Regions from separate parts of the Homo sapiens genome. Here region 2 is linked to region 1. The links are contacts of gene promoters, found by promoter capture Hi-C in human tissues and cell types (Jung and others, 2019). All regions are on one chromosome and are shown on one strand. The core of a region is centred on a gene start or on the middle of the fragment in contact, and the rest is flanking DNA. Distances in the headings are between cores, read along the strand shown. Region 1 holds the start of SYTL2 (synaptotagmin like 2). Region 2 has its middle 9.0 kb from the start of LINC02695.

The links. Contacts are between HindIII fragments. The study calls those that stand out against the background at their distance.
Region 2: a fragment that was not itself captured here is called in contact with the fragment with the promoter of SYTL2 in region 1 in 1 of the 25 tissues and cell types used here (liver).

Annotation. Positions count from the first base shown.
Region 1 is chr11:85,808,773-85,816,443 of GRCh38, forward strand. It overlaps SYTL2 (synaptotagmin like 2), which reads right to left and starts at 2,369. Exons shown (of 20, transcript NM_206927.4): 1 at 2,182-2,369. RefSeq lists a silencer at 2,328-2,507. The HindIII fragment of the contact is 9,754 bases long and covers 1-5,778 here.
Region 2 is chr11:86,181,139-86,187,785 of GRCh38, forward strand. No RefSeq gene overlaps it. Among named protein-coding and RNA genes, the nearest start is that of LINC02695, 9.0 kb to the right of the region's middle. RefSeq lists a cis regulatory region at 2,645-2,919. The HindIII fragment of the contact is 5,124 bases long and covers 1-4,091 here.

The DNA of each region.
Region 1 (7,671 bases), core at 1,119-3,618:
GGATCTTCTATGGAAAAGTTTGGTAAGCCCTAAGACAAACATTATAATCTTATCCCCCCAACTTTTGAGAGAGTGACAACCTCATTAATACCAAGTAAGTTTTCCTCTTAATTTAAAAAAAAAAAAAGCCACATTTTTCTTCATCTACTGTATGTTTAAAAATTCTTTGTAAAACAGGTGACAAGCAAACATATTTCCAGGGAGCTCTGGAAGCCTATACAGGCACAGTTCACCCTACCTCCCTTGCCCAAAGAGGAGAAACACCTAGACTAGCATCTGGGTTTTGAAGATGGTGGAACCTGGGCTTCCCCTAGGCTGCCTCACATTTCTACAAGGCAGCAGACCACTCTGCACAAGGTGCTAATTCATTCATTCCACAAATGTTTATTGAGCAAAACCTGAAAAAGGCCTCTTAGGGGACAGTGGAATCATTCACCAGCCAACGGTTAGGGCTAACGGGTCAGATGTGGACAATCAATCTTTCATTAGACCCCAAACCACCTCTAGGATAAAGCAAACAGGGCCCTGCCCCACCCACGCACTAGCAGCTGGGCAGGATTAGGGTAGGCCTTCTAGAACAGTACTGCTGCTGAGAGGCTAAGGCAGTCACAGATTACCTCCAGAATAACGGAAACTCCTGCACCATAAATGACATAATAGCTCTAAGATGTTTTGCATAGTGCCTGACACCTGGTGAGAACACAATGTTAGACATTTTTGCTCTCCTTATTCCAGCTTGCTCTTACTTAAGGAGCACAAAGACAGTGTAAAGAACACAGGTTTTAGAATCAGAGATTGGATTTGAATTCCAGCTATGCTACTTCCTAGCTAAGTGACTAAAGGAAGCAATCTTTCTGAGCCTGTTTCTCACCTATAAAATAGGGTATAGTACATCACCCCTCATGTGGCTTTGTGAGAATTAAGGATATATTACATACAAAGAAGTGTCTGGCCCATAGTAAGTGCCCACTAAACAGCAGTCAACATTGCCCTGCTGCCGTCCCCACACCTCTTCTCCTTCCTAGCTGCTCTTGATGGGTTCTGCAATCTGATTTCACCTGGATACCACACTAAGGGTGAGAAGGGGCAGAACTTCAGGGGTGGAGGAAAGTGAGGGAAGGGAAATGCTGGAGACCTTCCATAGAAATCCAGCCAAGTCCTCAGCTCCTTTCAATCATCCTACTCTATCTGGCTGCTCCATCCAGCAGACAGCAGGGGTCACCATCCTGGTGGGGAATGGCTGCCAACAAGGGGACGGGAAGCTGGATGGCAGTTTGCATCCACCCCACCTTCCAGGGTCTATCTGTCTGAAGCCCCACCGGGCTTCCTCTGCACATCCCTGCCGGGCTGTGTGGCTCAGGGGGCTGACAGGGTGATTCATAGCCTGTTCTTATCTAGGCTTCTATCTCAACCCTGCGCCCAAAGCCCTGGAGGCTGCTGGTCACAAACCAGCACTAAATGAAAAGAAGAACTTTTCATTAAGGCAGGAAGTGGAGCCCCTCAAGGTCAAAGGGGATTTATAAAGAGAGGAGGAAAGAAAGGGAAGACGCGGCAGGATGGGTGCAGAGAAAGAGAGACCCACTTCCTATATGCTGGTGGAGCCCTGTGTCTTAGACGCTAAAAACAGTCGCTTTTCCACTTCAAAGGATGATAAAGCCCACTCGTGTAGTTTATAGCTCGCCGTGGGACGAGGTGTGGGTATGGAAGAGAATTCCAAAACACGTCTTATTTTCAAAGGAGAAATCATCATCCCCTGGCCGGCCCTTCCCAACACCCCACCTGTAAACAGGTGCTGACGCTCCTACCTTTCTGCACCTGAGCAATCTGGGGGCAGTTACTCTGCAGCCAGGTCTCCCCAGCACCCAGCCCCAAGCCCAGGTCAGTCCCTGAAAGCCCTAGAAAACGCGATAGCTCAGCAGAACCCTCGCCTACCCGGGCATCCCAGCTTCCTGGCCGCCTGGGCAGCGGAGGTGGCTCTGGAGTAGGTGGGAAACTGAGGAAAGGAGCTTTCCCCGTGCCAAAACGCAGTTCCCATTTTAGAACTGGTTAGACTAAGGAACAACATTCTACACCACCTCCCTCACTTAACAGAGGAGGAAGCAGAGACCAAGAGAGGGAAACAAAGTTGCCCGAGGTAACACAGCGAGTGGGCCAAGTAGAGACTGGAACCCGAGTGCGCACCTCCGAGTCGCTGCCGGGCAGGGAGCGCGCCTCGCCGTCTCTCTTGTCTTCTGGCCCCCAGCCCTCGGCCTGGCGGTGCAAACCGCGCAGCCCCGGGCGCGGCGCGTTACCTTCCCCCGGGCAAGGCGTTGCGAGCCTTCACTCTCCCGACGGACGCTGGCGGCACGGCCCGGGTGTCGCCCGGCACTGTCAACGCAGAGCGGCGTGCGCGAGTCCCTCCCCGCTACCCCCGCCCCCGGCGGGCGGTGCGGTGGGGCCGGTCCCGGGTGCTCGGGCCAATGGCGCTTCGCCCGCTCCCCGCCCCGGCCCGCCCCGGCCTCCTCGCCCGGCACACAGCGCCTGCCAGCCCCTGCCCTCTCCCCTTCCCTCCCTTCGCCCTCCGCCCCCGCCTGCTGCTTCTCTCCGGTTCCTAGCCTCCTTCTCAAGTGTACCTTGCCCCGAAACAACCTGTTTTCTGTGCAAATAAAGCAGCACTGTTGTTATTGTTATTATTATTTTTATCACGGCGCGTTAGGGGGCCTTGGAGCCCGAGAGTGTGGAGCACTAGGAGCCTCTGCACTCCGAGAAGGGACAGCCACCGCGCAGGGAAAGGGGCGCGGAGGGTATGGAGCCCGGTCATGGGGTAACTTGCTTTAACCCTCGGGACGTCAATTTCCTCACATGTGAAATAGAAGAAGGGGGGAAAAAAGTTGTTGAGAGGACTAAATGAAGTGATGCTTTAAAATACAATAATACCTAGAGAAAGGTGAGGGCGTCATGCACTGCCTGAGCTACTTACTGGGGTATGCACAGAGGACTGGTAAGCTCCTGGAAGACGCTGTGTGGCAGGGAGGCAGACAATGCAATACAGTAAATACAATATTGTGGTCGGGCGCGGTGGCTCACACCTGTAATCCCAGCATTATGGGAGGCCGAGGCAGGTGGATAACCCGAGGTCAGGAGTTCGGGACCAGCCCGGCCAACATAGCAAAACTCTGTTCTAATTAGAAAAGAAAAAAGAAAAATTAGCTGGGTGTGGTGGCGAGCGCCCGTAGTCCCAACTACTTAGGAAGCTGAGGCAGGAGAATCGCTTTAACCCGAGAGGTGGAGGCTGCCGTGAGCCAAGATCGCACCACTGCACCCCATCCTGGGTGACAGAGCAAGACTCTGTCTCAAAAAAATAAATAAAATAATTTAAAAATTGTATCACGACCTATTTTTTACAAGTTACCCATGATGGGGCCAGCCCAGGCAAACCTCTGAAGGAGATGAACCTTAAAGCCTTTTTCCTTATCATTTCCTGGACTAGTGTTGTCCATTTAACTGAGGGTGGCCCAGGTCTGCCTTTGGTTCTTCCAAAGGTCTTCCTTCTCCCAAACTTACAAATACTTATCCCCAAGGGCTTCAGTTAGTGCCCAGTGCAGGCTGCTAGCCTGGCCCAAGAGTCCTGGCACTGTGCAGAGATGTGTATTCTGGCTTCCTTCAGCCTTTGAGAGCCTGGTGTGTCCCTGTGCTGGGTGAGCATGCCACATGCAAAAGAGGAATAAGCCACTGGTCTTGCCTTTGAAGAAACAAATTTGTAAATAATTTCATTTTAGGGTAAGTGTTATAATAGGTTGACAAAGTGTTGTAGAGTCACTACGCTGAAGGAGGGGGACAATAAAAAATACAAATGTGACCAAGGTAGGTCTTGAAGGAGGGCTACAAATTAGGTCAGATTGAAGGGGTGACAGAAGACTGGGCACAGAGAGGCAGGCAGAGACATGGAGATGCCTGTCATATGTCACGGCTATTGCACAGGATTTGGGACAATGAGGCAGAGATGAAGCTAAGGAGGTAGGTGGGCAGATGTTGGAGGAGTGGCTGTACCTGCCTTGCTGAGGGAAGCAGGCTGTGTCCTGTTGGTGATGGCTGTTGGCGAATGATTTTAGGCAGGGGAGTAGCGTGACCTCAGATGCTTTTGGTACTTCACTTTTATTGTTGATTGCACCTGCCTTGGTTATCCCCTTCCTGCCCCTCTCTAGCTCTGGAGGGCAGGCACTGGGTCTTGCTCACCTCTGGGTGCCTTGTATCATCTGGCATAGGACTTTGAAGGAACTAAATACATGCTGTTCCCAGTATCACTCGTCCCCTGGAAACAAATAGCAATGCCTAAATGCTAGAGAGGGTCACAGGATCCTTGCTTCAGGTTGTGGGGCAGGCAAGTGGGGGAGAAATTTTAAGGCAGGGTCTTGTTATGGCTCCCAATTCATCTAAATCTTGTATGGCTCAGAGACTAAATCTTAGAGCTCTTGGCCAAGATCCAAATGCTGTTAGAAATGTCAATTTCTAATAAGACCTTAGACCAATTACTCAACCTCCCTGTGCTTCAGTTTGCTCATTTGTTAGAGAGAAAATAATTGCACTGCTCTCTCAGGCCTACTGTGAAGATTAAAAGAAGATGCACATGTTTAGCATGATGCCTTGCACATACAGTGCACTGAAAAAGCCTTGGTTAACACGATCATATCAAGTCAGCAATGGCCTGTTCCACTTATCCCATAGGAACCCTTCAAAATGGTTTACATATAAGTGACACTTAAACTTTAGAGAATTCTAGGTTGACATTGAAGGGGAAGGCAAGAGGGTAGGGATAGCATGGTGTAAGGTTAAATGCACAGACTTTGGTGTATCTCCTGGCTCTACCACAGAACTCGCTGGTTGACTTTGGACAAGTCACTTAATTTCCTTCTTTCTCTGGGTGACTTTAGACAAGTCTCCTCCCTCCCTCCCTCCCTCCCTCCTTTCCTTCCTTCCTTCCTTCCTTCCTTCCTTTTTTGGCAGGGTCTCACTTTGTTGCCCAGGCAGTGGCACAAACACAGCGCACTGCAGCCTCAACCTCCCAGGCTCAAGCCATCCTCCCACCTCAGCCTTCCAGGTAGCTGGGACTACAAGCACACACCACCACGCCCAGTTAATTATTGTATTCTTAGTAGAGACGTGGTTTCGCAATGTTGACCTCTTGAGCTGAAGCGATCTGCCCGCCTCAGCATCTCTAAGTGTTGGGATTACGGGCGTGAGCCACTGCACCCAGCCTAAGTCACTTAACTTCTGTTAGCGATTGTTCTTCTATAAAATAGAAGTAGTCATATTACCTGCCCCATGCCAAGGAGATAACACATAACACATATAGCATATTGCCTGGCCCAAGGTAAGATCTCAATTCCTGTTAGCTAATGGTGTGATAATGGTTGGAAGAGAGTTATTATAGTTTTTGGAAAGAATAATCTCCATGCCTCTGCCTGCCTCTCTGCACCCCAGTTTTCTGTCACCCCTTCCAGATGACCTAACTTGTAGCCCTCCTTCAACATCTACCTTGGTCACATTTGAATGTAAGCTTTTATTGTCCCCCTCCTTCAGTGTATGTGACTGTAACTAATATATTGGAAAGGGGAAATGTAATCCTGGAAAAAACTAAACCTACATGTAAAGGTTGGTGCTGGATCTGTGAAAACTAACTGGGACAGGAGTAGAAGTGAGCTTAGAAAACTGCAGGTAGGGCATGGGCCTGAAAGAGTTTTGTAGGTAGACTTATTTAAGTTGAGAACCCCTGTCTGAACAAGGATAAGATTCTTGTAGCTCTATGGAACTGAACAAAATGGAATATTGTTTGCAGAATTGAGTATGACCACTCTCTGAGCTGCCTTCTTGGAATGGTGGAAGGCTGGTGCTTTTAAATGATAATCTGAAATTTAACCCCTAACACCACCCAACACCACCTGTGACTTTGTAGAGTCACAGGCACATTGCTAAATCGTTTAGTTTTATCAGCTAGTAAGTAAATATTTATTGGTAGCATAAGCTAGGTGTGGTTCCTTCAAGCTTGAAATATCCTTCCCTCTGTTTCTGACCCAAGGAATCCTTCTTATGCATCAAGGCCTAGGACAAGTGTCACCAGATTCACCCTCCTAGACTGAAAAAATTAATCCTTGCAACCTCTCCAATTCCCATGGTGTATTCCTCAAGCATTTTCTTGGCATCGATTTCATCCTGTCTTTATAGTTACTTGTCACAGGATCTGCCACCCCCTACTAGTTTTAAAGCTCACCCACTTCTGGGACCCCTTCTTTCTCTTGTATTTCTTCTTACCACCTCCATCCTTCTCCCCACCTCATTGATACCCAAAATGACTTATACACAATAGGCACTAAATAAATGCTTGATAAGTTGCATTGACAAACAGGTCTCTCATAGTATGCATGTTACAAAGAGCAGCACTTTTGCCACAATGAAAAAGTAAAAGAACCTTTCTCTTAAAGACATGACTTTGTCTTTAAGCTATGTGAATTTATAACTTCTTAACCACCAGAAATTGTAGATATTGCTAAAATGCTATATAATTATATCTGGCATGGTAATGTGGTTAGATGACTTATACCAGTTACGTATCAAATGTACAGCATTTAAAACACAATTTAGTCATGGTACTGAGTCACCAAAGCAAGAATTTGGTTTTTTAAATAATTTGTAAATACTGAATATTCTTTTAACTTTCAAAAGTATAAAACTTTGGCCTTGAATCAAATTGTGTTAGCAATCTCTCCACAGTCTTTAATAATGCCTTGAACTTCTACAGCTCTTTGTATTTTTCAAAGCCCTTTCACTTTGATTATCTTGTTTGATCTTCATTCAACCCTATGATGTAGGAAGCGCAGCTATTAGTGTCTGCATTTTACAGATGAAGATAGGAGGCACATGAGAGGATCAGGCCCTTAAACCAAGGCCAAATTGCAAATGACAAAGTCAAGGTTAGGACCCACGGATCTACTACACCAGAGGTATTTCATATATTCATGAAAACTGTGGCATCATTATGTATCATCTTTATGAGCAACAATCTCATATATTATAATTTATAACCCTGTGTATGTATTTTCATATGGCCTTCCTTTAAAAAGTAAAGAAAAACTGGCTGGGCACGGTGACTCATTCCTGTAATCCCAGCACTTTGGGAAGCCAGGGCTGGTGGATTGCTTGAGCTCAGGAGTTCGAGACCACCCTAGACAACATGGTAAAACCCCATCTCTACCAAAAGTACAAAAAATTAGCCAGGTGTGGTGGTGCATGCCTGTAATCCCAGCTACTCGAGAGGCTGAGGCAGGAGAATCGCTTGAACCTGGGAGGCGGAGGTTGCAGTGAGCCGAGATCACGCCACTGCATTCCAGCCTGGGTGACAGAGTGAGACTCCTTCTCAATAAATTAAAAAATAAGGAAAGAAAAAGAAAAAGTAAAGAACAACTTTTGTAGTGATCACTTCCCTCAGATATGTATGTGTCATCATCATTAGTTATTACTTCAGTGTCTTTCATCTGTGACTGTCAACATTACACTTTTTTAAAAACCTCTAGGTTTCCTCTATAACTGTTTTAGAACAGATTTTGTTATTTTGTTTAATGAAAAAAACAAATATTACTTCAAAAAATAGAGGACCTCCACTTATATGAGGTACCTAGAATAGTCAAAAGCAAAGAG
Region 2 (6,647 bases), core at 280-2,779, 370 kb after region 1:
ATTTCCCGTCGCCAAAACATATGTTGAAGTCCTAAGCCCTGGTACCTGTGAAATGTGACCTTATTTGAAGACAGGGTCTTTGCAGATCAAGTGAAGATGTGGTCATTAGGGTGGGACCTAATCCAATATGAATGGTGTTTTTATGAGAGGACACAGAGACAGAGAGACACAGGGAATATGCTGTGTGATGACAAAAGAGAGATTTAAGGGATGCAACTGCAAGCCAAGGAATGCCGAGAGTTGACAGCCATGGCCAGAATCTCAGAAGAGGCAGGCAAGAGTTCTCTCCTACAGGTTTTAGTGGGAGCATGGCCCTGGTTAACACTTTTCACCTCCGGAACTGTGAGACAGTAAATTTCTGTTGTTTTGAGCCACTCAGTTTTTGGTACTTTGCAATGGCAGCCCTAGAAAACTAATCCAGCCATGAAACGGGTATGTGCCTGGCATGTTGAAGGAAGATGGAGGCCAATGTCACATGGGAGGAAGTCATAGGAGATTGGATCAGAGAAGTTACACAACAGATGGCGAGATCATGTGGCACCTTATGGTTGGAGATGTGACATGATCTGACTTACCCTTTAACGGGCTCACATATAGTTATAACTGTGTGTTGCATTCATGGCTGAAGGGAGATGTATAGAAGAACCCAGACAATATTACATACACTAGATAATCATAAGAGGTATAGAGATAGGTGCCAAATTGTGTAAATACTAAAATCACCGTGCTTATAATTAAATCTTTCATTTGCTCTTTAGGTGTATTTTAATCTGTAATGTTAATGCATAACTAATTTTTAAAAGATGAAATTAAAATTTTTATTTTCAAAAACAGACTCTTAGGTGGCAAAGCATGAATTTGCTGACCTCAGGTGAACACATTAGTGACTATCTGGGTTGCTCTAACCATAATCATGGCATACCCCTCACCTGGTGTCATAGACAAGGAGACCCATTGGCTAGATTCCCCTTCTAGGAAGGACTTGCTATTCTGTCAGGGGAAATATGGTCAGCAGACAGCCTTCAGCTCCTTCAGGGTTTGTCTCTGTTGCAGAGAACAGGCTATCTTGTATATGGTTCAAAGACAGAGAAAAAACTGAGTTAGCTTAAGAGACAGGAAATGTATTTATGAAGGATTAAGTATATCTCACAGAACCCAACCTCATGAAGGACTGGAAATGGAAGAAGATGGTCTCCCTGTTTCTGTATCTCTCATCATCATCATCATCACCGTGTTCTGTCTATACTTCTTATGGTAGATCAACTCTCACAGCTCATCAGATGACATGACCCAAAACGGAAGTCCCAAAATGTCACCCTCTGTTGCCCTTATTGTCTGCCACCATATAGGTCCAGTGCCTGTAGCCAACTGATCCTATCTCTCTAGATTCTCAGGAGAGATGGTCTGACTTGGCTCTCTCTTTGGTCAGATGTCCACTCCTAGCCAGTCAGCTATAGCTGGAGACTGGGTCATTTTGAATGGAAAACTGCCCTTCTTCCAAGGCTGTGGATGGAGTTTATTTTCTAAGAAGAGATGTGATGTTGGGAAGAATATGCAGTGCATCTCTAGCACAAAAATCCTCACAGCTATGATATTGTAGGAAAAATGTTCAACTTTGAAGCCATGGGATCAGTTTTGAGTTCTTGTTCTGCCATGTATTAATTGTATGAACTCTAATGGGGTCAATTAAACTTTTAAGCCTCTGTTTCCTCAACTGAAAAATTTCACATTTTTTGAGATGGGCACTAGGCTATGCACCAGCAATATAGAAATAAAAGATACAGTCCCTGCTAGACAGATGTTCACAGTCTAGCAAAGCAGGCAGGTAGGAAAGCCCAATAACTACAGTTCTAGGTCCATATGCAGTGATGGAGAGAGCACGCCTGGGTGAGGTGCCCTCCTTGAATGCCCCAGTGTGTGGGTGTGTGGGCATGCACGGTGTGGATAGAAGAGAAGAGGAAGGGAAGAGAATGGGGGAAAGCTTCCTAGAGGAGGTCAACCTGGGGCGGGAACTTGATAGGCAGGAGATAAATGTGGGGAGGAGGAAGTATACCCAGGCAAGGAGAGCACCATGTGCTGAGTCACAAATACGTGAAGGAATGTGGTCATCTCAGACACATGTAAACGGGAGGGCAGGGCTGAAGTAAAGAACTGCATCTGGCATGGAGCCAGGCAGGTGTGGTGGGGTGGTAAGAGATGAAACTCCTCTGATTGAGAAGGAAGACATGTGGGCAAGCGCTCTGAAAACAAACAGTGCTACAGACACAACAGTGGTGAACAGGGAGTGTTGATTATGTGAAACCAGGAGCTAGGCTACTTGGTGTCATGAACGTGTCTCTCTATGAGGCAGGAAATATAATCTTCATTTTACAGGGCCTTATTGAGTCATAGTCCCAAGGTCTCATGGTGTCTTGGTTTGGGTTCTCTCAGAAGTGGACGTTGAGAAAAGGATTCAAGCAAAGGTAGTTTATTTGGTGGACGATCCTAGGAAACCCCAGTCAGAAAGTGGGGAAGCGAGGTGCAGAAGAGAAGGAGCCGATAAAGTGTGTGCTATCAAAGACGTTACCACTGAGGGTACCTGGAGCTCAATCCCACTGGGAAATGTGGGAAGACAGAGAGGAATATGCCTCTGAAGTATTTCCCCCAAGAGGCAAGGAAGCTGGGGTGTTTCTCTCCAAATCTCCATCTGTCACTGTTTGAGGACTATTTCTCAGATATTAACTCTGGAAATCCCAGCTTCCCTTGCACAGGGCCCCAGCGTGCTCTTCAGGCAGTGAGTCACAAGGGTTCTCAGTAAGCAGACTTCAGGGTGCACAGGGGAGGGCTGAGAGGTTATGGGCAGAACATTGACAGCATGTGCTATGCACAAACAGTGAGGAGGGGAGCAAGGGCTTGGTCCCAAGCAGCCTGGCTTAGGTTTAACAACAGTATTATACTCTTTCCCAAATGTAGAGTATTATTAATATACATATTTATACTGATACTTACAGTACTTTTCAGAAACCATAGTATTGAGCCTAGAATAGAGGGAGTCTGTTGTCCTCATCAATGATTGACACATAATGGATACTTAATGAATATTTTTGGATGAATGTTTTAAAAGTCAAAACATAACTAATTCAGTGTTATTTACCTATAAAGAGCCTTTGGCTGGGAATCAGAAGATTTGGATTGTAGTTTGAGTTCTGCCATCAGTTTGGGGACCTCAGGGAAGCCATCTAGACTAATTGAGCTTCACTTTTCTCATTTTAAAACCTCATTTTATTACCCACCCCACTTGCCTACTGTTAGAGTTGTGAGGATGAAATGTAATAATGAATGTGAAAAGTTAAAAGTATGGCAAACTAAGGAGTAATTCTGTATCTCTGCCTTGATTTTGAATCAGGAAGAAGTGGGCCTTTGGTTTCCCAGGACCCAGGACCATGTACTGTGAGGCCACCAAGTCCATCAGTCAGGGCTCTTTGTTGTAACAGGTGCTAACTCTGACTATCTTAGTCAAAAAAGAGTTTATTAAAGAGATAGCAGGATGATCACAGAATTGATAAGCAGTCTAGAGAATCAAGCTAGGAAAATGGACAGGAACTGAAAAAGAACCATGGGGAAGACCACACCTCAGAAACATCCTGGTGAAAATGCTGCTTCCTCTCCCACTGAGCAGTGGACACCAGTGCTGCCACCAGCACAAATTCTAAACCGTCCGAGTTTCTTGGGTCATTTGCTTCAAACTTAGAGTCTCAGGCAGTAATATCAGGGGGGCCAAGATTAGGTCATATGCTTGTGCGCCAGCTGCCAGGGACCCAGGAGGCCAACCGTCTGGCCTGTTTTCCAGCTTCCATCAGGGGAAGACACATTCTACCTCCCAGCATGTCTCATGCAATGGCAGTTTCCCCAGACACAGGAAGGGGGCTCAGACGCTGGGCAGCCAAGAAGAATGTAAGTTCCATCCAAGTCAGAATGTAGGGAAAGTGAGGATACTGGTTCAAAATTGAAAAACCAAGATAAAGAGAAGGTCATGTTTTATTGAGTAGCAACATTGACTTGAGGCTTTATTAACCAGGAACTGTTCAAGGTGCTGGGTACAAAGAGGACTTTGACACTGGTACTGGCCTCAAGGTGCTCTAGCCAGTTAGGAAATGTATATTAAAATAAAATATGATAAGAAAGGGCTATAACTGAGATGTAACAAAATTCAACAGGAGCACAAAATAAAGGATTAATGCTGGGGATCATGTGGGTGGTCAGGAAAGTTTTCACAGAGATGGGTCTTGAAGGACGGAAAGAGAGAGAAATGAAAGAGCATTAGAAGCAGAGCCACCTCTGGTATCTGTTACTCTTTCTAACCAGCCAGAATCTGGGTCCGGTATTTCCTGCTCAGTCCTTTCCTACTGCCACCAAGCACAACACATATGCTACTACAATTAAGGTCTAAAATTAGTATGATTAAGGTCTAAGCAATATGAGGGTATTGTTCAAGCCAGGATTTTCTTCCTTGGCTCTCCCCAAACTCTCTAGTGCAGAGTGATGTTGGCAAAAGTTATTGCTGCTTTTGTTGTTTTTAGCTATTTTAGATGAAAGCATATACTCAGACCTGAGTTTGTTTGTTGGCTTGTTTTTTAGATATGGTGGTCTTACTCTGTCATCCAGGCTGGAGTACAGTGGTGCAATCATAGCTCACTGTAACCTTAAACTCCTGGGCTCAAGCAGTACTCCCACCTCAGCTTCCAGAGAAGCTAAGACTATAGGCACATGCCACCATACCCTGCTACTTTTTTATTTTTTATTTTTTGTAGACATAGTCTTGCTATGCTTCTCAGGCTCATCTCAAACTCCTAGGCTCAAGCGATCCTCCCATTTTAACCTTCCAATGTTGGAATTACAGGCATGAGCCACCACGGCCAGCTAGACCTGAGTTTAAATAATGGCTCAGCCACTGACTAAAATCTCTCTGAGCCTTGATTTCCTCAAAGATAAAATGGGAATAAAAAATACTTGCCTTCCAAGTATTCCAAGGACTTTTGAAGATTAACTTAGATAATGTTTGCAAAGTGCCAACGATTGGCAGTTGGCAGGTGCTGTTATTGCTGTTGGTTTGAAACAGTTCTTTGAAAATCTGGTGATGAAGAAGAGACCTTACTCTTCTTCCCCTTTGACCTCAGGGGTTTCATACAAAGAGTGAGGAGATTACAAGAAGGAAATGTCTTCCAAGAGAGAAAGAACCCAGAGGTTCTGCCAAAAATGTGAGACTATATGGGGGAAGCAGATATGAGCTACTTTCAAAGCCTGACTCCGTGGTGGGACTGAGAGCCTGGCTCCTGAGTCGAGAGAGGCTTTCCAATCCCACAAGAATGATTTCAAAAACAGCCCTCTTGGCATTACTGACATTTGCCTCTGCCCTTTTCAAGGAGGAAACAATTTACCCAGATGCAGGCCCGCTTAGGCTCCATTCTCTAGCAAGATCAAGCCAAGAACTTGGAAGGGTGGAGGACAGCACATTCATGAAGCCATTTTCACATACTGTTCCTGCACAGCCTTTGAAAATGTGTGCCTTGTAACAGGTTGAATAACACTGGTAAAATCGCATTGTGTCCATTCTGAATAACAAGTATGATATTTGAGAGGAATTAGCTATGGGCTGAAGAAATTTAATAAACAGGGAAGATACAGATGTGAAAATGCTGTGTGGCTTGGAACAGACACCAAATTATGTGGAGTATGAACTTAAATCTCCTTTCTGAAATTCCTGGCCTATAATTTAATAGTCTCTTCTTCCTAATAAACAATAGTGTTCTATTCCAACCTTGGACTTCTAGGTAAATTCTGACCATTCATTCATTAAACAGCTATATGTTGAATACTTACTACATGCCAGGCATTGCAATGGGTGTACAGGATCTTGATTCTGATTCTGGAGAAAGGAGAAGAGATTGTTTTGTAAACATTTAGGGCTTCTCCTTTCAAATGTTATTTGTGGGAAAGCATGAATGCCTCCCCTGTCTGTATATGGAGAAGATAATTTCATGTAGAATGGCGTAGTTCTGGTGTTTACTAGGCTCATCATCCCATCTGGGGGTAGGCCCAGGATTGGGAAGGATAGAGCAGCCATGCATGTTGCTATGGTAACTTGGCATTAACACACCTTAGCTCCTTTGTGTCACCCCCAAATTTCCTTTAAAACTAGTGTACATTTTCAGAATGTGGAAAGCTTTTCTTAATTTTCACGTGGCCAGTTATAAAGGCATTTTTCAAAGCACTCAGGCAAAAGGATGGTCCTTTTTTTTTGAGGCTGAGGCTATGCTGATGCTATTTTCTAAAAGCATAATCAGGATCTAGACTATCTTATTCTTTCATAGGAGATTGCACTTTCAAATCCCTTTCACATATGTTATTGTGCTTTTATTGCCACCTTGTTTTAACCTCCTGCTTAAGCTACTCTGAAGGGCAGGAAAATGAACCCACTAAATTTTTATGCCTCAAAATAACCATGTGAGGTAGGAACTAATACCTGTATTTTATAAATGAAAGAACTAAGGCTCAAACAAGGTCACATGGTTAGAAAATAACAGGATGAGGAGGAATGGAACCAGGCCTTTAGATTGCAGATCTGGTGTCTTTCTGTTATACCTTCACTGACTCCCAGTATCTTCCAG